Linked DNA regions of Homo sapiens: region 1 is linked to region 2. Evidence: promoter capture Hi-C in 16 types of primary human blood cells and fetal thymus (Javierre and others, 2016). All regions are on one chromosome and are shown on one strand. Each heading gives the region's core, a stretch centred on a gene start or on the middle of the fragment in contact. The rest is flanking DNA. Distances are from core to core; before and after follow the strand shown.

Evidence for each region. Contacts are between HindIII fragments. The CHiCAGO score rates a contact against its expected background, and 5 or more counts as called.
Region 1: the fragment with the promoter of C3orf22 here is called in contact with the fragment with the promoter of TXNRD3 in region 2 in 6 of 17 cell types (M0 macrophages, megakaryocytes, M2 macrophages and 3 more); the score reaches 11.4 in M0 macrophages.

The regions. Positions count from the first base shown.
Region 1 is chr3:126,557,607-126,560,306 of GRCh38, forward strand. C3orf22 (chromosome 3 open reading frame 22) reads right to left here and starts at 1,326. Exons shown (of 4, transcript NM_152533.3): 1 at 1,021-1,326. It overlaps LOC105374090 (a long non-coding RNA gene), which reads left to right and starts at 1,407. Exons shown (of 3, transcript XR_924455.2): 1 at 1,407-1,583. The HindIII fragment of the contact is 5,245 bases long and covers 1-2,700 here.
Region 2 is chr3:126,653,725-126,656,424 of GRCh38, forward strand. It overlaps TXNRD3 (thioredoxin reductase 3), which reads right to left and starts at 1,400. Exons shown (of 16, transcript NM_052883.3): 1 at 1,024-1,400. The coding sequence starts at 1,266. The HindIII fragment of the contact is 4,771 bases long and covers 366-2,700 here.

The DNA of each region.
Region 1 (2,700 bases), core at 76-2,575, 96 kb before region 2:
CACTGGGACCATGGCCATGGCATGGGAGACCAGCCTGTCTGTGAGCCAGAACACACCCGCTCACCCACCGCCTCCGTGCCCCATCTCTGACTCTGGAAGATCAGCCATCCAGAGGGCCTTTGCCCTGGCCCAGAAATACTGCCAGCCCTGCTCACGACCTGTCCCTTGCCCGCACCAAGAAGTCCCTGGGCCCTGAAGGGCAGGCTTCCCCACTGACTTGCCCACTAGTCTAGTACAGGGTGCAGCTCTCTACACCAGTGCTGGCTAAAGGGGGTCTTGGTGGCCTCCGCCCCTGCAGCCCTGGCTGTTCTGAGGACTCTGGGATGCCTTCGCTGGGCCTAAGCCCACAGTCCTGCAGCCACAGCCTGGGCCAGGCCCCAGCTCAGCCCCTTCCTGTCAGGTGCACTTGGGTGAGTCACCTCCAGCCCAGGCTCAACCCTGAGGAGTGCGGGGCAGGGGAAGCCTGGGCCGGGACAGGCAGCAGGGCCACAGCAGGAGGCTGCAGAATGGTGCCTGTGGCCTCTAAGTGTCTGCTACATTCTATGCATAACCTCACTTCATTTTTTTTCTACCTGATGGAGAACGTATTATGCTCACCCCCATAATTCAAGTGAGGAAACTGAGGCTCCGGAAAGTTAACTGATTTGCCTGCATTCACACAGTGAGTCGGGGAAGAGGTTCAGGATGGGTGGCCTGTGCTCCTCCTGCTGGGCCATGCAGCCTCAAACAGTCCTGAACCGGGGAAGCAGCATTACCACAGGAATTGAGGGATCAAGGGAGACAGGAGCGCCCCTCAGCCCCACCCCATACCCTCCCACCTGACCCCTAGGTCATGGAGATGACCCTGTAAGCTGACTGCTGAATCTGCCCCACAGGGACAGGGCTGCTGCAGAGTCCAGGGCTGCCCTCTGCCATCATGACCCTGTCCCAGGCTCTTCTCCGCCACCCTGTTGCTGCTTCCCAAGTCCCTAACCGACTTGGGGACTGTCCTTTCCAGCCACACAGGCTGCTAGCACTCACCAGGCAGCTACCTTGAATTCTGGCAGTGACGATGATCAGGTGTGATCAGAGAGTCCTGGAACTGCTCCTATCCAGCAAGATGCTGGTGTGAGAGCCGCTGTGGCCCCCGAGGCTGGCAGGGCCCTGGCTACAGCCCTCTCTGGAAAGACCCAGTCCCAGGCTATGCCCAGAGCTTCCAGCCAGAAAGGACAAGCTGCAGGACCCTGTGGGCTGGCTTATGTGACGCCAGGCAGACTGAAGCTGGCCATGGTCCCAGCTGCCACATTACCACAGGAACAGCAGCCCCAGGGTCCCCGGACAGGCAGTGCCAACAAGCTCACTGCAAGGTCAGAAGCCCTTGAGGTCACAATTGGTGACATCACAGCTGCTGACCCATGAGGCTCAGACTCCAGCCTGAAGCCCCTCTGGCCCAGGGAGTGACTGCAAAGTCAGCAGCACATGGGCCAGGGCTGGCCAGCCTCTCAGCTCCACGCACCCAGACAGAAGCATCCACATCTGCACTCTTCATAGCAGAGACCTCTCCCTGTTCAGGTTCTGCATACAGAAGAGACGCCCAGAAATAGGTACAGACACTGAGGCTGCAGAAAAGCTGTTTCTGTGGAGGAGTGGACACCAGGTTGCAGGGGGTTGAGGAAGGAGAAGGCAGTGAAGGAGCTGAACTGGAAGTGGTTCAGCCGTTCACCTGTGCCACTGTCTACTGTACCCTACGACTTTTCACTTATTAGTGCTGTTCACCTGTGCCACTGTCTGCTATACCCTACGGCTTTTTACTTATTAGTGCTAACAGGGTTTTTATGGATTATTTAGGGTTTTCTATATGCCATCTGTGAACGGAGGTAACTTCACTTCTTCCTTTCCAATTCGAATGCTTTATATTTCCTTTTCTTGCTTAGTTGCTCTGGCTAGAACTTCCAGTACTGTGTTAAATAGAACTGGGGAAGGTGGGCATCCTTGTCTCCTTCTTGATCTTAGAGAAAAAGTTTCCAGTTTTTCACTATACAGTATGGTGTTGGCTGTGGGATTTTTGGATATATTGCCTTTATCATGTTAAGGAGTTGAGTGTTTTTATCATGAAAGAGTGTTCAATTTTGTCAAGCGTGTTTTCCACATCAATTGAAATGATCATGTCTTTTCCTCCTCATTCTAATAATGTAGTGTAGTACATTGATATTTTCATTATGAAAAAATAATCCTTACATTCTAGGGATAAATATTACTTGTTAATAGTGTGTAACACTTTTAATATGCTGATGAATTTCATTTACTAATATTTCATTGAGGATTTTTGCATGTGTATTCATAAGGGATATTGGCCCCTAGTTTTCCTTTCTTGTAGGGTCTTTGTCTGACTTTGGTATTAGGGCAATGCTGGCCTCACAGAATGAGTTAGGAAATGGTCCCACCTCTTCAACTTTTAGAAAAACTTTGAAAAACATTTATGTATGTTCTTTAGTAAGTGTTTGTTAGAATTCACGAGTGATATCATGTGGCCCAGGGCTTTTCTTCGTTACTGATTCAATCTCTTTACTAGTTATGAGTCTATTCATATTTTCTATTTCTCCCTGATTCAGTCTTGTTGGTTTTTTTTTTTTTTGTTTCTAGAAATTTGTCCATTTTATCTAGGTTATCCAATTTGTTGGCGTGACATTTTTTGGCGTATTCTTTCATAATCCTTTTTAT
Region 2 (2,700 bases), core at 150-2,649:
TAAATGCGCTGGGAGTTACGTGCAAGAATAAACATATAGCTGTACTGTTTTTTAAGACCAAAATACCAAAAACAGCAGAATGATAAACTCCGGTACGATTCATCCCAGGGAATAGTCAGCAACGAAAATTAATGAACCCCAGCTACAGATACTAACATGCATGAATCTCTGAAACATAACTGTTGAGGAAGAAAACTGCAGAAGAATACCTATGTATGTATGGTTCTATTTATATCAAGTCCCAAAACAGGCCAAAAGGAACCAAATATTGATGAATAATATATATATTTGGTAAAAATGTAAAAAAAAAAAAAGGAAATTTTGCATAGTGGTTAACCCTGAGGGAGGGAGGAGACAGCCAAGGAAGCTTCTACAGTACTAGTGTCACTTTATTATTCTTAAAAATATATATGCATAATATATGTTTTAAGAAACTATACACATCAATGTAAACTTCAAATATATTTGAAAAACACAGCCTATAATTTCATGAACTCAACCCAATAGTTTATGCTTTTGCATACTGTCTTCCACGTATCATTTTTCAACTTTCTGTAAAATGAAGTAAATTCCTAAACGTTGAAAGTCTGTACCTTACACGTAGGTTATCACCCAAAGGCTCGTTTCTAAGTGAAGTATTCTTAAACACAGAATACATTTGTCCTTAGAAATAATGCCGGATTCCTAGTCCGCCCCGAAAAGTTAAGGCAGTGTGCATGAAGCTGAAATTACCTCAGTCGTCCTAACAACCTTCCCGTACCTTCGTTTCACAAACGGGGGAACTGAGGCTCTGCACAGGGTCCTAACCCGGGTCGAGGTCACGCAATTAGGAGAGTTTCTGTTTTGATAAACTATCACAAGCCCACCTCAGGGGACGACCGGGGAGAGGAGAGGACGGACGGCTGACCTCACCGCCGCAGCCCGGGACCCGCGGGCGCCCCGGCCCGGACCCGCCCTGCCCCGGGTGGCGTCCGCGTGGCGGGCCCGGTCGCGCGCGGTGGAACCGGCGAGGGCCGCGCCTACCCGAGTACTATGGGGACAGTAGCTCTTGCTGAAGATCACCACCCGGCTGCGCTCGATGAGGCCCACGAGGTGGCGGCGCAGCTCCTCGCGGGCCTCGGACGAGCGGCTGGGCCCGGGGGACGACAGGCGGGCACGGCGCCCCGGCGGCGACAACACGCGCGCCCCTCGGACATGGCCCGAGCGGCGGTTGGGGGCATCGCCCGCCTTTCCCGGCCCGGGCGACTGCGGCGGCGACCGCTCCAGAGTCTCGCTCTCGCTCCTGGCCCGGCCGGGCCTGCTCACAAACCGAAACGCAGGCGGCTGCGGCGCCGGGACGGGGCCTGAGGGGCGGCGAACGCTGCCCTCGCTGGCCACTCTCACCACCCGCGCGAATCCGCGAGGCAGCCGCTCGCCCCGCCCCCCAACACCGCCCCGCGCATGCGAAATTGGGTCCCCCGCCCGCCCGCAGCCTAGGTGTCACCTGCCCTTCGCAAAGGGGCGGGTACCAAGCGCGAGCCTCTTTATCTCCAGGTTGTGCCTGCGTCCGGAGACCACCCAATCTTGGCGATGGCGCTCTGAGATGGCCTCTGTGCAATGCCTTTTACTCCTAATAATCCCCAACAGCCCCTTTAAACCACCTTAAAATATACGTTCTTCAATTTTTATGGGAAGTGTGAATTGGAAAGATTGATATTTTTAAAAGTTTAGATCACACAAGCTAAATAAATATATTGCGTTTGCTATTGCAATGCAGCTTTAATGAGTTTCCTAGGTTGCTACCCGTCAGTTCCCTTCTACATAGAATTCCAGAGCCGCCCCTAACAAAGGGACTCTGAAACCGCGAGAAGAGGAATCCTCTGTCCATTTCGGTGGATGAGTGGAAGACCTCGGAGCTGAACTTGCCTGCAGTGACTGAGTTAGCCGGTCATGGTGGCGGGTGCCTGTAGTCCCAGCTACTTGGGAGGCTGAGGCAGGAGAATGGCGTGAACCTGGGAGGCGGAGCTTGCAGTGAGCCGAGATGGCGCCACTGCACTCCAGCCTGGGCAACAGAGCGAGACTCCGTCTCAAAAAAAAAAAACAAAACCAAAAACAAAAACCTGGAGTTTCCTTCTTCTCAACAATTCTTTACATTTCAGTTAAGTCCTCTAGGCGGAACCCATGCAATAACCAGAGCAGGGGAAGGAGCCTAGTAGGTACTTTATGCTTTTTGTTAACCTGTGCACTCAGCGATGCTGGAGTGCCTGTCATGTGCCAGATACTGTGCTGGGCGCTGCGGATTTGGCAGAGAATGAGGCTGGCCGCCCTGCTCCTATGAGGTGTGGCTGCGTCTCTCCATCTCCTGGGTCCCATGAGGCACAACCAGTCATGGGGCCATTGTTCAGGTGAGGACACATGTCCAGGATGAGGGGGGAGTGTGTGGAAGCTACGGGCCTTGAAGTCAGGTGCATCCTCCTTTTCCCTGAGACTAATCTGTGGACATGACCCATGTCCCCAGCCGTCGCCCTCAGGGAGGTCGCAGGGCTGGCCGGGTCCCTGCGTGAAGTTTCATCTAGCACCCAATCACAGTGCCTGTGATTTTCACATTAGCTTGGGTCCTCCTCTTTGAGCCGTGAGGGGGAGTAATCAGGGGCACAGACCATGACACTCTTGCATGGCACAGCCTGGCCCATCACACAACATTGATGGGTCATTGACATG